Regions from separate parts of the Homo sapiens genome. Here all the other regions are linked to region 1. The links are contacts of gene promoters, found by promoter capture Hi-C in human tissues and cell types (Jung and others, 2019). All regions are on one chromosome and are shown on one strand. The core of a region is centred on a gene start or on the middle of the fragment in contact, and the rest is flanking DNA. Distances in the headings are between cores, read along the strand shown. Region 1 overlaps AXIN1 (axin 1). Region 2 holds the start of WDR90 (WD repeat domain 90). Region 3 holds the start of POLR3K (RNA polymerase III subunit K).

The links. The method cuts DNA at HindIII sites, captures the fragments that hold promoters and counts their contacts. A contact is called where the count stands out against the background at its distance.
Region 2: the fragment with the promoter of WDR90 here is called in contact with a fragment that was not itself captured in region 1 in 1 of the 25 tissues and cell types used here (dorsolateral prefrontal cortex).
Region 3: the fragment with the promoter of POLR3K here is called in contact with a fragment that was not itself captured in region 1 in 1 of the 25 tissues and cell types used here (lymphoblastoid cells).

What each region holds. Positions count from the first base shown.
Region 1 is chr16:339,937-344,045 of GRCh38, reverse strand. All of the region lies in intron 2 of AXIN1 (axin 1), which reads left to right. Among named protein-coding and RNA genes, the nearest start is that of AXIN1, 11 kb to the left of the region's middle. RefSeq lists enhancers at 2,030-2,581, 3,864-4,109. The HindIII fragment of the contact is 5,555 bases long and covers 1-4,109 here.
Region 2 is chr16:647,488-651,596 of GRCh38, reverse strand. It overlaps WDR90 (WD repeat domain 90), which reads right to left and starts at 2,232. Exons shown (of 41, transcript NM_145294.5): 1 at 2,171-2,232; 2 at 1,743-1,834; 3 at 1,430-1,606; 4 at 1,235-1,343; 5 at 888-1,058; 6 at 494-602; 7 at 331-398. The coding sequence starts at 2,180. It overlaps MCRIP2 (MAPK regulated corepressor interacting protein 2), which reads right to left. Exons shown (of 5, transcript NM_138418.4): 3 at 4,053-4,109; 4 at 3,713-3,814; 5 at 3,123-3,477. The coding sequence ends at 3,407. LOC105371038 (a long non-coding RNA gene) reads left to right here and starts at 2,284. Exons shown (of 2, transcript NR_135177.1): 1 at 2,284-2,642; 2 at 2,982-3,139. RefSeq lists silencers at 1,858-1,987, 2,098-2,197 and enhancers at 1,373-2,195, 3,618-3,667. The HindIII fragment of the contact is 7,525 bases long and covers 1-4,109 here.
Region 3 is chr16:50,749-54,857 of GRCh38, reverse strand. It overlaps POLR3K (RNA polymerase III subunit K), which reads left to right and starts at 1,250. Exons shown (of 3, transcript NM_016310.5): 1 at 1,250-1,382; 2 at 3,213-3,300. The coding sequence starts at 1,272. It overlaps SNRNP25 (small nuclear ribonucleoprotein U11/U12 subunit 25), which reads right to left and starts at 1,030. Exons shown (of 5, transcript NM_024571.4): 1 at 800-1,030. The coding sequence starts at 841. RefSeq lists silencers at 680-779, 920-1,239 and enhancers at 1,570-1,729, 1,458-1,984. The HindIII fragment of the contact is 23,499 bases long and covers 1-4,109 here.

The sequences.
Region 1 (4,109 bases), core at 428-2,927:
ACTGAGAGTTTCTTTCTTTCTTTCTTTTTTTTTTTTTTGAAATGGAGTCTCGCTCTGTCACACAGGCTGGAGTGCAGTAGCACTATCTCGCTATCTCGGCTCACTGCAACTTCTGCCTCCTGGGTTTAAGTGATTCTCCTGCCTCCCGAGTAGCTGGGATTACAGGTGTGTGCTACCATGCCTGGCTAATTTTTGTATTTGTGGTAGAGACAGCGTTTCGCCACGTTGGCCAGGATGGTCTCGAGCTCCTGGACTCCAGTGATCTCAGCCTCCCAAAGTGCTGGGATTACGGGTGGGAGCCACTGCACCTGGCTGGTTATTTTTTTTGCTTGTTTTTTTGTTTGAGATGGAGTCTCGCTCTGTCGCCCAGGCTGGAGTGCAGTAGTGCAATCTCAGCTCACTGCAACCTCTGCCTCCTGGGTTCAAGTGAGTCTCCTGCCTCAGCCTCCCGAGTAGCTGGGATTACAAGTGTGAGCTACCATGCCCAGCTAATTTTCTGTATTTTTAGTAGAGATGGGGTTTTACCACGTTGGCCAGTCTGGTCTCGAACTCCTTTCCTCAAGAGATCTGCCCGCCTCAGCCTCCCAAAGTGCTGGGATTCCAGGTGTGAGCCACTGCGCCCGGCCCCGGCTGGTTATTTTTAAGATGGGACTGAAGTTGAGGGCTGGGCTGCAGGAGGAAAATGAGCTCCGTTCTGATTTCCACTGTTGGAACCCCAGTGCCTCCCTCCCAGCCACTCTTCAGTTCTTGGCTGCGAGCAGTAGCTTTGCTGTCTGTCCTTGGTTTGCTGTATTTGTAATAAGGAACCTTTGCTATGAAATTAGTGGGATACATTGGCTTCTCCTGTCTAATTTTGTGTAGCTCTGTCTACACAGTTTGGGTCCTAACTTGACTGCTCTGGGGCTGCTGGTGGCAGAGGACCCTGGGGCTTGGGAGTCGTGTCTGCGGTTGAATCCTCTCTGTGGGAGGTGGCCTGTGGTGCAGCCTTGTGGCTTGAAGATCTCTGATGTTGGAATGGTTGCTTGTCAGCACAGACAGGGCATGAAGTCCAGGCTGCGTTCCTCACATTTAGACCATTCTCTTTGTCCTGCCAGGTGTAGGTGAGGGTGCACTAGGTTGGAAGTCGTGGAAACCCACCCACCTGAGCCCAACCCTGAAGGGCACTGTTGAGGCAGAGCCTCAGGTGTGCCTTAGGGCCTGGCACCTTTGCTTTGTGCCATTCTGACTTTGCCTGCCTGGTGGGCGACTTCGTGGGCTTTGTGTTGGAGGTGGCTGCTGCAGTGACCTTGGGCTCTGGGCTCCCTTGTTTACAGATGCTTCCCGCAGCTCTGACGGATGGGCCCGCTGTTGCTCTGAGGAGGGCACGTGTGCCGCTGTGTCCCGTCTGTCTCAGCACAGTCACGGTGCGTGCGCTGGGGGCTGTGCAGCAGGGTCACTCCTGAAGGAAAGTGGGTTCTCCACCCAGACAGACGGCTGCTCCCCAGTGGGGAGCTGGGGGCAGTCCTCCAAAGGAAGGCTGCGGGTAATGCAAAGGGAAAAGGAGAGTGGGTACTGAACAGGCGGCTGGTGAGCATTGCTACCACAGCAGGGCCTGGAGCTTAGGCCTCACGTGTTAGGGGATGCATATCCTGTGGAGAGCCGGTTAGTCGTCCCGGTGTGTCCGGAATTGGTGGGTTCTTGGTCTCACTGACTTCAAGAATGAAGCCGCGGACCCTTGCCGTGAGTGTTACAGTTCCTAAAGGCGGCCTGTCCGGAGTTTGTTCCTTCTGACGTTCGGAGGTGTTCGGAGTTTCTTCCTTCTGGTGGGTTCGTGGTCTCACTGGCTTCAGGAGTGAAGCTGCAGATCTTCGCGGTGAGTGTTACAGCTCATAAAGGCAGTGTGGACCCAAAGAGTGAGCAGCAGCAAGACTTACTGGAAAGAGAGAAAGAACAAAGCTTCCACACTATGGAAGGGGACCCGAGCGAGTTACCACTGCTGGCTCCCGCAGCCAGCTTTTATTCTCTTATCTGGCCCCACCCACATCCTGCTGATTGGTAGAGTCCAGTGGTCTGTTTTGACAGGGCGCTGATTGGTGCGTTTACAATCCCTGAGCTAGACACAAAGCTTCTCCACATCCTCACCAGATTAGCTAGATACAGAGTGTCCACACAAAGGTTCTCCAAGTCCCCACCAGAGTAGCTAGATACAGAGTGTCGATTGGTGCATTCACAAACCCTGAGCTAGACACAGAGTGCTGATTGGTGTGTTTACAAACCTTGTGCTAGATACAGAGTGCCGATTGGTGTATTTACAGTCCCTGAGCTAGACATAAAGGTTCTCCACGTCCCCACCAGAATCAGGAGCCCAGCTGGCTTCACCCAGTGGATCCCGCACCGGGGTTGCAGGTGGAGCTGCCTGCCAGTCCCGTGCCGTGCGCCCGCACTCCTCAGCCCTTGGGTGGTCAATGGGACCGGGCGCTCGTCGGGGAGACTCGGTCCGCACAGGAGCCCACGGAGGGGGTGGGGGGCTTAGGCATGGCGGGCTGCAGCTCCCGAGCCCTGCCCTGCAGGAAGGCAGTTAAGACCCAGCGAGAAATTGAGCGCAGCTCCGGTGGGCCGGCACTGCCGGGGGACCCAGCACACCCTCCGCAGCCGCTGGCCCGGGTGCTAAGCCCCTCATTGCCCGCGGCCGGCAGGGCTGGCCGGCTGCTCTGAGTGCCGGGCCCACCAAGCCCACGCCCACCCGGGACTCCAGCTGGCCTGCAAGCGCATGCAGCCGCGGTTCCCGCTCGCGCCTCTCCCTCCACACCTCCCCGCAAGCTGAGGGAGCCGGCTCCGGCCTTGGCCAGCCCAGAAAGGGGCTCCCACAGTGCAGTGGTGGGCTGAAGGGCTCCTCAAGTGCCACCAAAGTGAGAGCCCAGGCAGAGGAGGCGCTGAGAGCGAGCGAGGGCTGTGAGGACTGCCAGCACGCTGTCACCTCTCACCGGGGTGGAATTTGCGTGGAGGAACGTGCCAGGAGGGCCAGCCCTCGGGTGCTGACCCCTCTGTCCTGGAGGCTACTTTGCCTGCATCTCTGCCACAGTCGCTCATCCCCTGCGGTGGGGCTGCTGCGGTCCAGCACGGCCACAGGCATCCAGTTCCCCTGTGGGACGCCTGAGTGCGGGTCCTTGTTGGTCCGTGTGTGAGCCGCGTGGTGGTTTCACATACTTGATTTGAGGAAAGTGAAGTGTTCTGCTTAGGTCTTTGTCTCAGCCTAGGAAAGAGCTCCATTCCTGGCCCTTTTCTGTGTTTGTCCCACTCACCCACTGTCATTTTGAGCTCCTGGGCCAAGGTTTCATGGGGTTCCTCCCTGGCTCCCCCGCTCTGCCTCTGTGGGAACACTTTCTGCACCCTCGGGTCTTTGTTCCCATTGTCAGTGGAACTTTGAACAGAGCTGGCTGGTTCACCTCGTCATTTCAGCGGTGTGGATCAGCAGGCAGGTTCTGCTGTTGACTGAGTGTTGGGCGGGAGGCCCAGGGCCTGCACTCCCTGGCTGGCGGGCTCAGGCTCTGCTTCCCTTCAGGGTGGCTTGGCCCACCAGGTGGCCTTCAGGGCTGGCCTTGCATGCCCCTGCCAGGTCCGCTTGGTCAAGCCCGCAGTCTCCTCGCCGCTGGCCCCTTCTGTTGACTGCCCTGACCTTCCTTGATGACTGGGGACAGGGTCTTCCTGGATATTTTCGTGTGTCTTCCCGGGCCAGTCCAGTGATGCACTTGTGGATAGGGCTGGTCAATGTGGCTGTGGCCAGAGAGTGGACAACAGACATGTCCACAGCAGGAGCAACATGGTGGCTTGTCTTGGGCTGCTGGTTCCTGGAGCTGCTCAGAGGACCGGTGGGTCCTTTCGAGGTGGGCAGCCAGCCCTTGCCGTTCAGGTTCCCGCAGGGGTGCGTGAGGAACCGTCGGACCTGCTCATTAGTTTATTGACTGTGTTTCTGGTAATGGCCTAAAAGGTTAAGAGAAGAAATGGTTAAAAAAAAAAAGAAGAAGAAGAAGAAGAAAAAGAAAGGGCCCAAAATGTGTACAGAGTTGTCTGTGGAGGAGTGGTTTTGGGTTTCCATGTCCGTTGGACCTCAGGCGGTGGTGCTGTTGAAG
Region 2 (4,109 bases), core at 983-3,482, 310 kb before region 1:
ATGCCTGGTGAGGGTGACGCCTGGGGAGGGCAGCAGCAAGTGGCCCAGCCTCACCGGCTCTGCAGGACCCACAGCCAGTATCCCCACTTCCACCCTAGGCCCTGAAAGTCTCCTCTTCCAGCTAGAAAGCTTGGGGCCCCCGGGTACCCCTCACACAGACTTCCCACCCTCGTGGTTCTGGGAACTCGGACAACCTACGGGCTTCCCTGGGTCCCTGCACCAGCTGCAGCCAGCACACCACTGGGTCCTTTCCCAGCCCTGCCCTCTCCTACCGAGCCCCACGCACCCTACAGGCCTTAACCTGGGTCCCCGCTGACCCCCCAGACCCACCTGCCTCAGGAGGGGAACAGCTCTTCTCAATCGGCTTGGAAGGCACTTTCAAGCTCTCACTTGGAAACCTTGGCAGGCAGAGGGAGAGTCAGTGTCTGGGGGCCCAAGGGCCACCCACCCTCCCACCACCGAGGCCTCCCTCGAAAGAAGCAGAACCACTCACCGGACGTGGATGTAGCGGTCATGCCAGCTCTCTCCCTTGGGCACAGGGAATGCCATTTCCCGAGGCATAGGAGTCACGGGCAGCTTTGCCCACTGGGCCCCAGAGATGGCTACAAGGAGCAGGGTTGTTCCAGGTCAAGGGAGGCTGTTTAGCCACCTGAACACAGGGCACCCGCCAAGGCACTGCCACGCCACCAGCCCAGCCACCGCCCCACCCCAGGGCTGCCTCTGGGATGGGTTCTGACCCCAGGGCTGCCTCTGGGATGGGTTCTGGCCAGAGCTCAGAGACAGCACAGCTCGAGCACTGTATTTTCCCAAGCACCCTGGACTTGGGCCTCTCCAGGGCTGAGAGCATGGGTGAGATATGGAGTGGGGAGTGCAGGTGCGGCCCTCACCAGGCTCAAAGCACAGGTCACTGGTGTACAGGTTCCTGACCAGCAGGCTGGCGCACAGCCTGATGCTCTTGAGATGGCCGTAGCACCGGTTCAGGTAGACCAGGAGAACGTCCTGCAGATCGAGCTGCAGGCAGGTCCAGCGGGCTCCGGAGGGGGCCAAACCCACCAGATCTGCAGGATGGGCACTCAGGGTCAGCGCCCACCCTCCTGACAGCCCGCGACTCCCAGAACTGTGAGCTTGTGCCCCCGCCAGGTTGTCCTCCAGGCCGCAGAGGAGCCTCACTGGGCCTGCACCAACTCCCTCCAGCCACCTGTCCTGGATCATCCACACCCCATCTTGGTGTCACCTCTCTGAGGTGTCCTGGCCTCCAGGACCAAGGGAAACTGGAGCCACGTGGCCGTAGACTTAAACTCCTTGAAGAGGTTGGAGAAAGACACACGGATGACTTGGTTGTCCTGTGGGGACGGAGCAGGGCCGTGAGGAGACAGGGGCCGCAGGGGTGCCGGGGCTCCCACGCAGCCCCCAGCCGCGGGCTCCGTACCTTGGAGGACACATCGAGGTGGATGACGAAGTGCTTGCTGGGCAGGGGCCGAAAGAGCACATACAGGTATCGTCCCGTCAGCCCCAGAGACTGGGTGCTGCTCTTAGGGAGCTGGATGTAGTTGGCGGCAGAGACTGAGCCCCGAATGCGATACACGGCGCCCTTCAGGGTCTTGTCCTGGAGAAGCGGGAGCCCGCATCACCGACAGCACCCAGAAGAAGTGCAGCGGGGGCGAGGGGGCCCTCGGGGGCGGGGCAGCTCTCCTGGGGGCAGGGCAGGGGTGTGGGCTCCGGGCGAGCCCCCGGCCGCCTACCGTGACCACGGCCACGTCCCCCTGCTTGGCGGAGCGCTTCCACTCGTCCACCCGGAAGTGTCTGAAGACGTTGAGGAACGGGTGCTGCCACGCTGCGGGGAGCGGGCGCCGGGCGTCAGGGGACTCGGCCACGCGAGCCGGGGCCACTGCGGGGCTGGGCCGGGCCTCGGGGACCAGGCAGGAGCCGGGGCTCTCCGCGCCTTCCCCGGCGACGCCAACGCCAGCTAGGCTGGCGGGACGAGGCCGGGCGCCCGAGGGAAGCCAAGCTCCGGGAGCCCGAGGGTGGGCGCCCGGCAGACGGGACCCTGCCTGAGCGGGGACTCTGGCCTCAGGGCCTAGGCGGGGGCCCTGAGCGCTCCGGCCGCCGACCCTGGACCCCGGAACCCCGGAACCCGGGATCCTCGGGACCCCCGCCAGCCGCGCGCTACCTCGGGCCATGGCGCCGCCGCTCGAGCTTCCCGCCTAGGCCTCCGCGCGCCCAGCGCAGAGTACGCCCCGCGACGCCAGGCAACGGCTGCCTGGCAACGGTGCCACTTCCGCCATTACTTCCGCCGTCATGGCGGCGCCCTGGCCACGTGACCTCCCCGGTGGGAGTACCCCGCTCACGTCAGCGGCCTCCAGGGTTGCTCCAGCCGCGAATCCCGCTGCCCTTTGCCCCGCGGGCCTCCCAAGGCAGCCCCCTGTTAGCCCGACCGGCTTCGAAGCCCGCGCCGGTTGCGGATCCTCCGCCGCGCCCACCTGTCAGCGCCTCGGCCGGCCGGGGCTCCCGCCGCATGCAAGCAGCGAGGCGAGGTCGCGCTGAGGCCTGGCCATGCCACGGACGGCCGGGCCTCACCCTGCCGCTCTCTCGCCGTCCAGAGGCCCCTGCTCCACACCTGGGTACCCTGGGTCCTGACTCAGGTGGGCTGGGTCATCCCCGTCCATCAGGGAAGGTAGTGCGGGCGCCCGCGGAGGGGCTGGTTCCCACGTTCGTCCTATCAGGTTCCCCACGTACTCCTTCGCCCAGTGTCCTGCGGCCGGGCCCGGCGGATTCAGAATGGGACCTGGCGTTCTGAGACACAGCCCCAGTGCCGGTAGTGGGGGGTGGTGGACTGCACTCCGGGGCCATTTAATGTCTTTAGGCCTTGAGTCTCGGCTTCGGTCCCAGTCAACGCCAACGGGAGAGGAAAGAGGAACCAAGTGGGGTCCCCAGACTTCCAAGCAAGGTGGGCTGGCTAACGTCCCTCCTACCTGTCGCAGGGCAGCTGGGTGAGAAGCTAACGGCTTGAAGGAACAGGGCTACAAGGGGAGTTTGTGCTGGGCCTGGCGTCCCAGGCTGTGGACTGGAACTGGACATGAGAACCCCCCCTACACCCTCCCAAGTCAAAGACACTCCAAAAAGACAGTTTCTCCACTTTATTAGCCTGGAGCTCCTCCCTGCCAGCCCCAGGGGCTGGTCGCTGGTCCCTGGGCACAGTGAGCAGGGCTGAGGTCAGACGGGTTCGGCCCTTGGCCATGGCAGCTTGGTTGGGACAGCCGGGCCAAGGGAAAAAAAGGTGCAAAAGTCCAAATGCTGGCACTTCAGGTGTGGCCGGCACCCAGCCAGGCGCAGTGGGTGGGCAGGGCGCCATGCTTCTCTCCTGGCGACAGGTCGGCCGTGTAGCAGCGCCCCCTCCCAGCAGCCACTAGGAACAGCTGGTGATTCTCGCCAGGAACTGCTGCGCCCACCACTCGTCTAGGTCAATGGGCACAAAGTCTGTGGGCAGAGAAGGCTGGGCAGTGATGCTGCCTCCCAGGCCAGCCGGCAAGTCTCCCCTGGAGCTAACCACAAGCCGCTCACCCGGACTCCGAGTGCGGCAGGCGCTGGGAAGAAGGGGTTTCTGCACAAGAGTCCCCTCCCTCATCCCCTGGGGTGGGAACCTGGCAGGGCCTGGGTCAGGATCAGAGGGGCTGGGGGGTCTCTCCTGGGGGGACAGGGTTGGGGGGCTCACTCTGCAGCCGGGGATTGGGGGTCCTCTCCACGTACTGCACAGGCCTTGGCCCGCCCTCACCGGCTGGGCCACCATCCAGCTGCTGTTGCACCTGCTGCCAGGCTGTGGGAGGAGGGCAGTCGGGCTGAGCCAGGTCCCAGGCACCCCATCGCCCACCCAGGGCCTGATGGTCACCCTGGACTCCAGCCCCACACAGGGCTGGTCACAGGACACAAGGGCAGAGTGCCAAGGAAAAGCACAGCCATGCAGCGGCTGTGGGTCAGCTTGAAGTGGGGCCATCCCGGGTCCATGGTTTTGCGACCCAGCAGCCTATGCCGCACCCTCTGGCCCCGCTCGCTACCTTCGGACACAAAGCGGACATTCTCCTCGTGGGCCACTGTGTAGGTCTCCTGGGTCC
Region 3 (4,109 bases), core at 1-2,500, 290 kb after region 1:
AATACAAAAAATTAGCCGGGCGTGGTGGCGCGTGCCTGTAGTGAACCCGGGAGGGGGAGGTTGCAGTGAGTCGAGATGGCACCACTACACTCCAGCCTGGCAACGGACCAAGACTCAGTCTCAAATAAATAAATAAATAAATAAAAAGACAGTATCGTCCCAAAGCATGATACTGACGCTTTGACACATGATTGACGCTTGAGGCAAATGGAACAATCAGTACTACTAATCTTGCTCTTATTTAAAACTAAATTTTTCTTTTACCGTAGGCTCTTTTTTTGCCTCAACTTTGACTTTTAAAGGTATTACAGGCCAGGCGGGTGGCTCACACCTAAATCCCAGCATTTTGGGAGGCCGAGGCAGGAGGATCGCCTGAGCCCAGGAGTTTCAGATCAGCCTGGGCAACATAGTGAGACTCCCTCTGTACAAAATATTTAAAAATTAGCCGGGTGTGGTAGCGCGCACCTGTGGTCCCAATTACTCGGGAGGCTGAGGTGGGAGGACGCCGCTGCACTCCAGCCCGGGCAACGCAGCAAGACCCTGTCCCCCGAGCCCCCTAAATACAATTACATTAAAATGTCATTTGATGTCACTCACTAATGAGGTTTTTGGTTCCTCTTTAAGCTTCGCGCCCCAGGCGAGTGCGCCCGGTCAAGGTTAAAACCCTCGTTTACGCCCAGAGGCGCCTTCCTCAGCCTTGGGCCGCAGTCTCCCACCAGCACCTTCGGAGGCTGCCGGCGCCCGGATGCCCGGACCCCGGGGAACGACTCCCGCGCCCCCAGCCCCCGCCCGCACACACCTGGATCGGCAGATCGCAGAGCAGCGGGTCCTGCACCACCATAGCCAGACCCTCCTGGAACACGTCCATGGCCTCGGAGTGCGGCAGCGCCTCTTCTTCGTCCTCATCTTCCTCTTGCGCCTCGGGCCCACCCGCGGCCTCCGTCTCCTCCAGGGCCGCCCCTCTCAGCCGGGCTCTGCCCGCACTGCCAGCCCGCACTAGGGAGGCCAAGCGCGCACGCGCAGGAACTGCGGCCCGCCCCAGCGAGGCCGCCCAGCCACTGGCGCGCCGGGGGGGGTGGGGCGGCTGCAGTGACCAATGACAAGTGCGAGACAGCCTGCAGCAGGGCCGGGAGCGCAGAATCGCCCTGTCTATTGGTTGGTTGGTGTGGCGGGAAGGCTGCCAGGACCAATGTGAGCTCGAGGCGGGCGGCGCATCGGCGCTGAGCGGCAGTGGGAGCTGCCGGGAGTTGGAGCCTGCGGAGTTCGAGACCATGCTGCTGTTCTGCCCCGGCTGCGGGAACGGGCTGATCGTGGAGGAGGGACAACGCTGCCACCGCTTCGCCTGCAACACGTGCCCCTACGTGCACAACATCACCCGCAAGGTGGGACCCGAAGGCCGGCGCTGGGCGCGGGCGACTCTCGCAGGCCTTCCGCGTCCTCCGACTGCTGCTCCATCGCCGCCAGCCCCGGCGTCTGCCTCTGTCCGCTCTTTCTCGCGCCCCTTTCTGGTCTGCAGCAGATCTGTGGGCTCTACTTTCCAATACACTCAGAAAGCCCCACCGTTTCCCACCGCCTTGGGTTCCTGCTCCCACGCTCGCGCCCTTCTCTGCGTTCACAGCGGCGGCCACGGTGATTTCCTTAAAGCTGAGGCACGCAGGTCCGTGCTGTGCGCAGAAACCTTCGGCTCTTCTCCAGCTCACGCAGACGAAAAGCCGGAGTTCTCCCAGGGCCTACCAGGTTCCGACACTGACTCCCTCCCCTGCGTGCGTCTCCGATTTCAAGTCCTAATGCCCTTCCTGTTGCCCTTTGCCGCATCAACACCGCCTCCTGGACGATCTCTCATCGTGCTCATGGTGCTAGCAGGGCCTTTGCACTTGCTGTTGCTCAGTTCACTCTTCCCCTAGATCGCCACCTTACTCATTGGTCTTGTCTTTACCGTATTTTAAATTTCAGCCCCTCCTTCCAATTTATTCTCCTTCCCTTTGTAATTGTTTCCATAGGGCTTATTACCTTCTAATATATTATGTAATGTATTGTGTGCTTTCTTTATTTTTTTTTATTGTTTTTTTTTTTTTTTTTTTTTTTTTTTTTTGAGACGGAGTCCCGCTCTGTCGCCCAGGCTGGAGTGCAGTGGCGCGATCTCGGCTCACTGCAAGCTCTGCCTCCCGGGTTCACGCCACTCTCCTGCCTCAGCCTCCCAATTAGCTGGGACTACAGGCGTCCGCCACCACCCCTGGCTGATTTTTTTGTATTTTTAGTAGAGATGGGGTTTCACCGTGTGTTAGCCAGGACGGTCTCCTGACCTCGTGATCTGCCCGCCTCGGCCTCCCAAAGTGCTGGGATTACAGGCGTGAGCCACCGCGCCCGACCTTTTTTTTTTTTTTTTTTTTTTTTTTTTTTTTTTTTTTTTTGAGACAGAGTCTCGCTCTGTTTCCCAGGCTGGAGTGCAATGGCGTAATCTCGGCTCACTGCAACCTCTGCCTCCCGGGTTCAAGCAATTCTTCTGCCTCGGCTTCCCGAGTAGCTGGAATTACAGGCGCCTGCCACCATCCCCGGCTAATTTTTGTATTTTTAGTAAAGACGGGGTTTCACCGCGCTGGCCAGGCTGGTCTCGAACTCCCAACCTCAGGTGATCCGCTTGCCTTGGCCTCCCAAAGTGCTGGGATTATAGGCGTGAGCCACCACGCCTGGCCAGAATACCTTTACTTTTTAGCAGTTAGAATATGTTGGTGCTACGTCAGTCTTAATGTTTGCATGCTACTCCAGTTTGTACTGTGTTGTGGGAGTTTGGAGTTTGAAACTACGGGAAGAGTGAACTCTTTGTTTTTTTTTTTTTTTGAGATGGAGTCTTGCTCCGTAGCCCAGGCTGGAGTGCAGTGGTGTGATCTCGGCTCACTGCAAGCTCCGCCTCCCAGGTTCACACCATTCTCCTGCCTCAGCCTCCTGAGTAGCTGGGACTACAGGCGCCCGCCAACACGCCGGGCTAATTTTTTGTATTTTTAGTAGAGACAGGGTTTCACCGTGTTAGCCAGGATGGTCTCGATCTCTTGACCTCGTGATCCGCCCGTCTTGGCCTCCCAAAGTGCTGGGATTACAGGTGTCAGCCACCACGCCCAGCCGAGTGAACTCTTATGTAATCCTGAAATTTAAGGTTTGGCAGCCCAGGTTTGCGCTATTCAGTTACTTGGAGTCTGAAGTGTTGTTTTTGTTAGGTAACAAATCGGAAGTACCCAAAACTGAAAGAAGTGGATGATGTGCTTGGTGGAGCAGCTGCCTGGGAGAATGTTGACTCTACTGCAGGTAAGAGGGAAAACTGTTTCTGTTGCTAAACTGTGGATAATTATGAGGCTGTTGATGCCACTGCTTGGCAGAGTCTATGATGTCATATAAATGATGTAGGTTTCTAAAAATAGAAAATGGTTCTTGAATAATTTATTTGTATTTGTTACTGTTTAATAATCTGTCAGACAAGCAATATTTGTGCCAGCCTTGGAGTCATACAGGCCCGGGTCAGATTCTCAGGGCAACCTTGTATTGTTGTAGGACCTTCCTTGGGTCTCTTGACTTCTCTGGGGCTAATCCATATTCGTAGACCGCGAGAGCATAAAGTGAATTATACCGTGCTTGGTATATAAGAGGCACTCAACAGGTGATAGCTTTGATAATGGCAATGATGAGTAGATTAATAAAAATAAGAGTCTAAGGAAAAAAGTATGTTCTTTCTGTTTGATATGGTTTGGCTGTGTCTCCACCCTAATCTCATCTTGAATTATAGTTTCCGTAATCCCCAGGTGTCCTGGGAGGGGCCCAGTGGGAGGTAATTGAATCATGGGAGCGGTTTCCCCCCATGCTGTTCTCCTGATAGTGAGTGAGTTCTCACAAGATCAGATCGTTTTATAAGCGTTTGCGTTTCCCCTGCTCGCACTCATTCTGTCTCCTGCTGCTCTGTGAAGAGGTTCCTTTCGCCATGATTGTAGGTTTCCTGAGGCATCCCCAGCCACGCAGAACTGTGAGTAAATTAGACCTCTTTTCTTGGCTGGGTGTCGTGGCTCACGCCTGTAAATCCCAGCAGTTTGGGAGGCCAAGGTAGGCAGATCACTTGAGGTCAG